Linked DNA regions of Homo sapiens: all the other regions are linked to region 1. Evidence: promoter capture Hi-C in human tissues and cell types (Jung and others, 2019). All regions are on one chromosome and are shown on one strand. The core of a region is centred on a gene start or on the middle of the fragment in contact, and the rest is flanking DNA. Distances in the headings are between cores, read along the strand shown. Region 1 holds the start of SLC5A11 (solute carrier family 5 member 11). Region 2 overlaps SLC5A11 (solute carrier family 5 member 11). Region 3 overlaps TNRC6A (trinucleotide repeat containing adaptor 6A).

Region 1 (2,595 bases), core at 50-2,549:
GGAGGGAAGGAAGGAAAGAAGGAAGGAGAAAGAAAGGGAAAGAAAGGAATAAGGAAAGAAATAAAAGAAAGAAGGAAAGAAAGAAAGAACAAAGAAAAGAAAGGAAAAGAAAGAAAAAGAAAGAAAGAGAAAAAGAAAGAAAGGAAAGAAAAAGAAAATCACTGATATTGTGGCTGAGCTCATGGCCACAGGAATTGAGTCTTGGCTTGGCCACTCACTATCTGTATTACCTTGAGCAAGTTATTTAATGACCCTTAGACTCTGTCCATGAATTAGGGGGTGCTGTACCTACCTTACAGGGTTTCTGTGTCAGTTAGATGAGATCCAGGCGTAAAGTTCTCTGCACGTGTCTGACACGTACCAGTGAAGACTTGTATTTGCCTTGTAGTTAACAGCAGCTGCAGTTGTAGTAAATACATTCCTATAGCTTTTTAATGCTTATGTGGATACATTTACCTTCGTTATCTCTGGGTAACACACCTGTGGGGTGGGTCAGCCTGAGGTTCATATTCCCATTTGACAGATAAGGAACCTGAGACTCGGTGAGGCAAAATGTTTGGCTCAATGTCCCTGACCTTGGTTAAGTGGAAGAGCTGGGACCCACGTACGGTGCTGCTGGCTGCCGGCTGCTGGCTTCATACCACCATGCCCACCCCACAAACACACTCCATTGTCCTGGTGTATGACAAGCTTTCTCTGCAGAGAGGGCTGAGCTTCCCCTGCCCCACAGGTGACAGCTGGAGTCCTTCTGCCAGCACCTGTCCCCAGACCAACTTCCCAGTTTGGAGAGTGGCTACCTGTTTGGGGGCAGGGGGTGTCTTACCTTATTCCAGATGCAGGGCTCACCTGCCCTGGGGGCTGTCAGTGGCTTCTAAGGCACTAGGAGGTGGCGGTGGTTGTAAGGAGGGAGATACCCGGGATCCTCTCTCTTTGCAGCCAAGAGCTTCCGGAGACAGCAGTGACCCTTCCTCCTATATGCCCGCTGCTGAGAGAGCCTCCAAGCGGGTCAAACTCCAAACTCCAGCCTCAGCTGCAGCGGGGATTAAAGGAAGCGTGAATGATCTCCCCAGGGCAGAAGAGAGAACGGGGCCCAGCCCAGGACCCTTGAACTCTGAGCAGGTGGGGAAGGTGACATGTCCCACGCTCTGCCCACACCGTCCTCCACCAGGGTCCTCACCTGCGTGGGGACCCATGGCATGGAGGGGTTGGGGAGACGCTGGAGCCCAAGGCACCATCCTGCTTCACTCACCCAGTCTTCCACTGTCCCGCCTCCACGCTGGGGACAGGCAGGCTTGGGACGAGCTGGAGGAAGGGGAGGGGAGGAAAAATGCTGGCGGCGGATGGAGGGGACAGAGGCAAAGTGCCAGGAGGGACGTCCAGCCACAGCCCTCACCGCAGTGGCAGCAACAGGAACAGCAACCATTGCTTGTGCAACCCCTTTCCATATACTCTTCAGACAGAGGCATGGCAAAGAACAGGTGTCTGCCTGAAGTCGAGAGTTCGAGACCAGCCTGACCAACATGGAGAAACCCCATCTCTACTAAAAATACAAAGTTAGCCGGGTATGGTGGTGCATGCCTGTGGTCCCAGCTACTCGGGAGGCTGAGGCAGGAGAATCACTTGAATCCGGGAGGCGGAGGTTGTGGTGAGCCGAGATTACACCATTGCACTCCAGCCTGGGCAACAAGAGCGAAAATCAGTCTCAAAAAAAGAAGAAGAAGAAGAAGAAGAGGTGTCTGAGGCCCTGAAAAACCGTCAGGAGTGACCGAGCCATGGCCAGGCGCCCACATCGGGCCCAGGACATCAGCGGGGCATAGCGAAGATTTCTGCCAGATGCTCAAAGCATCCAAAACTTTATTTACTTTTTATTTCTGAGACAGGATCTCACTCTGTCACCCAGGCTGGAGTGCAGTGGTGGCATCACAGCTTGCTGCAGGCTCATCCTCCTGGGCTCAAGTGATCCTCCCACCACAGCCTCCCGAGTAGCTGGGACTACAGGCGTGCACCACCACACCCAGCTAATTTTTTCATTTTTTTGGTAGAGAGAGAATCTTGCTATGTTGCCCAGGCTGGTCTCCAACTCCTGGGTTTAAGTGATCCTCCCACCTTGGCCTCCCAAAGTGCTGGGATTACAGGGGTCAAACACTGTGCCAGGCCAAATACCAAAACATTTTAAAAATAGTTACTAGTATTTGCAAACCAAGAGGCTTGAAACATAATTCTAGAATACTCACTTTTCTAGAACAACCTGAAGATCTGGCCTCACCAGGCCCCCATGGCCACAGGACAGCTGCTGACTGGGGAGGAGTCGTGGCCTCCCCATCTCACTCCTTCACTGGGCCTGCCAGGCTCTGGGGGGCCCTCAGCTGAGGCCCCTGTCCTGGCACCGAGTAGCCAGAAATAATAGCAGTGATGAACACGTGCCAGGCTCTAAGGGCACAACATGCCTTTACTCACTTGGTCTTTCCAACAACCCTCGAAGTTAGGTCCTGTTATCTCTATCTTACTGACGAGGTAACAGAGGTAGAGGAGATGAGTCATCGGCCCAGGATCACCCGGGTTGTAAGTGACACAGCAAGATTTCAGCCCAGGCCA
Region 2 (2,595 bases), core at 52-2,551, 40 kb before region 1:
TGGTTGTGATTTCTTGTTATTCTCTTTTAGGAAAAAAAAACTTATATGCACACATATTTCCTACATAAAGGGTGAGATTTATATGAGTGTCTGCTTGGAGTTCAGTATTTCTTCTTCATGATGTTTTTCTTCCTATTTGATGGGAAATCTAGCATACTATCTCTCCCAACATTTTAAAGTTTTTGTTAGTAAAATAGGGGGCTTTAGATCCAATTTTTATTAAATTGTTATATTCTTTATGTAACGTTTGCCTTGACCACACAATTTTTTCAGATCTGTAATGATTTTAACTGGATCATTATTTACTACCATTTTCTCTTTAGTCATAATACCAACTCTCGATTTTGTTTTGTTTCTGTCTTGTACCTTCAAGACAGGCACATAGGTCCTCCCTTTACTAAGTCTTTGCATGGTTCAGAATATTTCTGCAGCCCTGGCAAACAGAGAACTTGGCTGGTATCTGATCCTTACTTAGGATACAACTTTTCCCATAAAACACATCTGTAGCCCTTGCTCCACTGTCTTTTGGCATTTTATTGTTATGAAGGAGGGGAATGAGACCAGTTTGTTTATTATTTTTAGCTCACTACATTTTTTCTGTCTGGATTCTTTTTTTCTTATATACAGAGTCTCACCCTGTCACCCAGGCTGGGGTGCAGTGGTGCAATAATAGCTCACTGCAGCCTCGAGCACCTGGACTCAAGTGATCCTCCTGCCTCAACCTCCTTAACCTCCCTGATCCTCCAGTCCCCACCTGAGACCACAGGTGTGCACCACCACATCCAGCTAATTTTCCATTTTTCATAGAGTGGGGTCTTGCTTTGTTGTCCAGGCTGGTTTCAAGCTACTGGCCTCAAATGATCTTCCCACCTCTCTGTCTGTATTCTTTAGTATTTAAAAAGTATTCTTATACTTCACATTTTTTTCATAATGCTTCTTCTACCTGGAGATCTTGTTCATCGATTTTGCCTAAGACACAGCAAACCCTTCACACCTAGCTAGATATATCATCCTCCTTCTAAGAAAAGTTTTCTTTTGTGATTACTTTAATTATTTACTTTGTTCCATTTTTTTCTGACCTTTTTTCTAAGAATAAACATTTCTCAAAAAGCAAAAACAGAAAGAAAGAAAAAGAATAAACATTTCTCAAATGGTATATCTCTGCTCTCTATCTTCTATATTTGTCATCTTTTCTTTTATAATTTTATTATTTATCCCTTTTCTCTGCATTTTATTAGAACTCCTGTTTGTTTTCAGCCGGGCGTGGTGGCTCATGCCTATAATCCCAGCACTTTGGGAGGCCAAGGCGGGCAGAAGATGAGGTCAAGAGATGGAGACCATCCTGGTGAAGATGGTGAAACCCCGTCCCTACTAAAAATACAAAAATTAGCTGGGCATGGTGGCGTGTGTCCGTAGTCCCAGCTACTTGGGAGGCTGAGGCAGGAGAATCGCTTGAACCCGGGAGGTGGAGGTTGCAGTGAGCCAAGATCATGCCACTGCACTCCAGCCTGGGTGACAGAGCGAGACTTCATCTCAAAAAAAAAAAAAAAAGAACTCCTATTTGTTTTCATCCTGGGTTTGATTTTCTTTAGCGTTTGTTCTGCTCTTTACATCCACCTGTGGGGAGTTTAATTCTGCTAATTTTTTTAGAAAATTTTAGAAAATGTATTGTAATCTTCTGTAATCTTTTTCCTTTTTATCCGCTTCTATTCTCCCTTCACCTCAGTTTGTCCTCTACTTCTATCTTTCATACATGTTTCATAGAGTTCAGGATTCCAAGCATGGCACTCTCTTGATATTTTCTTCTGAGTCCTAAAATATATAATTTTCAGCACTATATTCTGCCATCTTTCAGGATTTTGATCCCTTTCGCTTTTCTGTGTTTTCTATATTAGTTTTCATAGCCTTTTTTTTTTTTTTTTTTTTTTTTTGAGACAGGGTCTCACTCTGTCTCAAAGCGAGACCAGGCCGGAGTGCAGTGGCACAATCTCAGCTCACCGCAGACTCAACCTGCCAGGCTCAAGCCATCCTCCCACCTCAGCCTGTCAGGTAGCTGGGACTACAGGCACATGCCACCAAACCTGGGTAAGTTTATGTTTATTTTTTGTAGAGACAGTCTCACTATGTTGCTCAGGCTGGTCTCAAACTCCTGAGCTCAAGCGATCCTCTTGCTTTGGCCTCCCAAAGTGCTGGGATTACAGGTGTGAGCCACCACACTCGGCCTTTGTTGTAGTCTTTAAGGCTTAATGAGTGGCTTACCTCTAAAAGATAGAAACCTGTGGAGAGTAGTGTCCCCCGCTTAACAATAATAAGAAGTTGGCTAATCAACAAAATAACTTCCCCTGAACCTATCAGAGAGCTGAGGCCATAGAGCAACCAACTGGCCTGAGATCTCAGAAAACACAGGAGCCTCCAAAGAGACATGACCGTTGGCAGCAAAACAAAGACAGGATCACCACACAAGCTGGTACGAAGAATTGGGCGAATATTTTGAAATGAAATGCTAAAGTCTAGGTGTGGGCTAGTGCTAGAGTTTAAAGCTTCTGGGCTGGATGCAGTGGCTCACGCTTGTAATTTCAGCACTTTGGGAGGCCG
Region 3 (2,595 bases), core at 30-2,529, 41 kb after region 1:
TGACGAGATTGTTGCATCATTTGCTGCTGCACACTAAGAGGTCGACCCTTAAAACAATGAAATGATTGGAAAAAATTACTGGGGGAAAACGTCTTTACAGAAAACTACATATTCCTCTCCATTTTTGAATTCACTTTCGTCTCAGCAGAAAGGTGAATAATCACTGTATAATGTTCACATAACTCATGGGCAACCAGCAGACTTAATGAAAAACATACTGCATTACATCTTAGTAAGATTGTTTTAAGAAAGACATTTCTGAATCTCTTGCTACAATGGAGATAAGCAGAGTTTATTAACACAAAGACAGCATTGCGAGTTGCAGGGCGGGCTCTACCTGCTGGTCTTGCTGCGGCCGGTTCCCAGAAGGCACGCTTCTCTGACTCTGCGCCCTTTGCTGCTGCGCTAACAATCGCTAGAGGAAAGATAGCGAAAAGGTTGTTACTATCACACCATTACAAAGTGTGTGCTTCCAAATGACGACAGCAGATGGACCTACAGAGGCACGACGTGATCTAGCCAATGCCAACATGTCTAGCATTATCTAGTACCATCTCTTCCTTGGACTCTCTGGTTTCTAGTCACTGCTGAAATTCAGTCTTTAGTTCAATCTAAACTTTCACTTCAACAGAGAAACTTTTCCTAATCATCCTACTAACACTAGCACCCTGGACTTGGCTGAGGTTTCCTCTCACAGCATTCTGCACTTCTTCAAGACATTCTTCACAAATGTTCACGATCTGTCTCCCCCGATAGACTGTAAGCTCCATGAGGACTATGACTACGCCTGTTTTGTTTAGTGCACTATGTCCCGCACAGAGTCTAGTGTTTGGCATACAGTAGATGCTCCATAAATGTGTACTAAGAAAGACTATGACTCTGCTTACCTGTAACTGGGAGATCTGAGAAAGCTGGTTTAGCTGGGATAGCTGGTTCAGCATGGCTACCTGTTGAGGGCCAAAGAGTGGATTCAGGCCACCGTTGTTTGGTGCATACTTCAGCAATGAAACTGGAACCTTAGGATCACAATGGTAAGTTAATGATCTTGATAAAATAACTCACACTAACTACACGTACTGTGTGTTTTCAGTTGTCAATAGAGCAGTTAAATTTGTGGACTATTCATTGGGGGTTATAGTCTTTGTCTCTGTCTTACTAACTGACCACTCACTTACACTTTTTCGTGGGTTAAGTAAAAGATGACAGAGGTGCATCTTAAACTAGTCAATTTTACTTTGCTTTTGTCCTACTCTCAAGAATGTTTTAAAGAAGAAAATGGTAAATTTTGGATTTAAATTATCCTTGACTTTTCCTTACTACAACCTTTTTTAATAGTTAATTCAAAACTAGCTGAATCTCAAAGATGCCAATAAATATGATAATGCTTAGTTAGCCATTTTATTCAAATACAAAATCATGCAAGATCCTTTTTGCAGGTAAACAGGAGAATGTAAGGAAAGCTTATTTACCTGAGGGGAGAGTAATGGAGGAGGCACTTGAGCACGGAGATTAGGCTGAGATGAACTAAGAGGTTGTGCTGGAGGCTGCTGCATGCCCCGGGGTTGTGCTGCTGTGTTTCCAACACCAAACATACTGGGATTGCCATTCTATAAAAACAAACAGCAACAAGTAACAGTGGGATTCTTTAGGGACAAACATCTCATTACCACACTGTACTATGATTTAAACACAGTAACTACATGTAAGAGAGATCTTATTACTAATACAAATCATTCAACTGAGAGCCTAAAATACACATCTGGACTTACCTGTCTAACAGAATTCAAGTTTTGCATACCCAGCCCTGCTATGGAGCCAAGGGCCTGGTTAGGTAGTGCACTATTTGAAGGGGGAAGCTTCATGCTTTGACTGGACATAAACTGCATGTTTTGGGATTCATCTGCTACAATGCCATCCTGATTGGACAGACAGAAAGATGTGCAACACCAGCCAAGCAAACAAGTGGAAGGGAGAAATCATTGCAGGAACAGAAGAGAAGTCACATGACATTCCAGCATCAACAGGAAACAGGTAGAAAACAGAAGAGATCGGATTAGTGTTAATTCTAGAGCACACAAAAAGAGCCAAACATATTTCATGGGATTAAGAAGAAAAATATAAATGCAACCTCTATGATAAATTGAGACATAAAAAGACAGTGAACTTCAAAATCCAGTAATAAGATTTGGTAGTGGATTGTAACACTTTATATTATATAAAAGGTTTTAAAATATTAGTGTGAAAATTACGCTATGAAGTATACTGGTTTATCAAGTCAGAGGTAAAAGTAAAAAACCTTACCTTATCAAAATAAGGATTGCGCTCCATGGAAGACTCTTTGGAAATCTGAGGCCGAGAACCAGGGCCTTTCCCGACCGTTCGATTGTAATCACCAATATTTAGGCTATGTTTATCTATCTCCATTCGTTTGTCTTGTAACATTCCTAATAAAGGCAGGAGACTGTTATCAAACAGGAAGACAACCCAATTGGTTTCAGATAAATTTACAACAAAAGCAAAACACTCACTTTCCAAACTGAAATGACTTCAGCCAAGACAAGGGTATGTGAAAAATACACTTCCATTTCATAAATT

The links. The method cuts DNA at HindIII sites, captures the fragments that hold promoters and counts their contacts. A contact is called where the count stands out against the background at its distance.
Region 2: a fragment that was not itself captured here is called in contact with the fragment with the promoter of SLC5A11 in region 1 in 1 of the 25 tissues and cell types used here (IMR-90 fibroblasts).
Region 3: a contact is called between a fragment that was not itself captured here and the fragment with the promoter of SLC5A11 in region 1, in 2 of the 25 tissues and cell types used here (bladder and neural progenitor cells).

The regions. Positions count from the first base shown.
Region 1 is chr16:24,844,667-24,847,261 of GRCh38, reverse strand. It overlaps SLC5A11 (solute carrier family 5 member 11), which reads right to left and starts at 1,299. Exons shown (of 17, transcript NM_001352248.3): 1 at 1,250-1,299; 2 at 824-1,030. The HindIII fragment of the contact is 12,271 bases long and covers 1-2,595 here.
Region 2 is chr16:24,884,993-24,887,587 of GRCh38, reverse strand. All of the region lies in intron 9 of SLC5A11 (solute carrier family 5 member 11), which reads right to left. Among named protein-coding and RNA genes, the nearest start is that of SLC5A11, 40 kb to the right of the region's middle. The HindIII fragment of the contact is 9,966 bases long and covers 1-2,595 here.
Region 3 is chr16:24,804,026-24,806,620 of GRCh38, reverse strand. It overlaps TNRC6A (trinucleotide repeat containing adaptor 6A), which reads right to left. Exons shown (of 25, transcript NM_014494.4): 12 at 2,302-2,444; 13 at 1,770-1,916; 14 at 1,470-1,607; 15 at 888-1,016; 16 at 338-415; 17 at 1-47. Among named protein-coding and RNA genes, the nearest start is that of SLC5A11, 41 kb to the left of the region's middle. The HindIII fragment of the contact is 5,372 bases long and covers 1-2,595 here.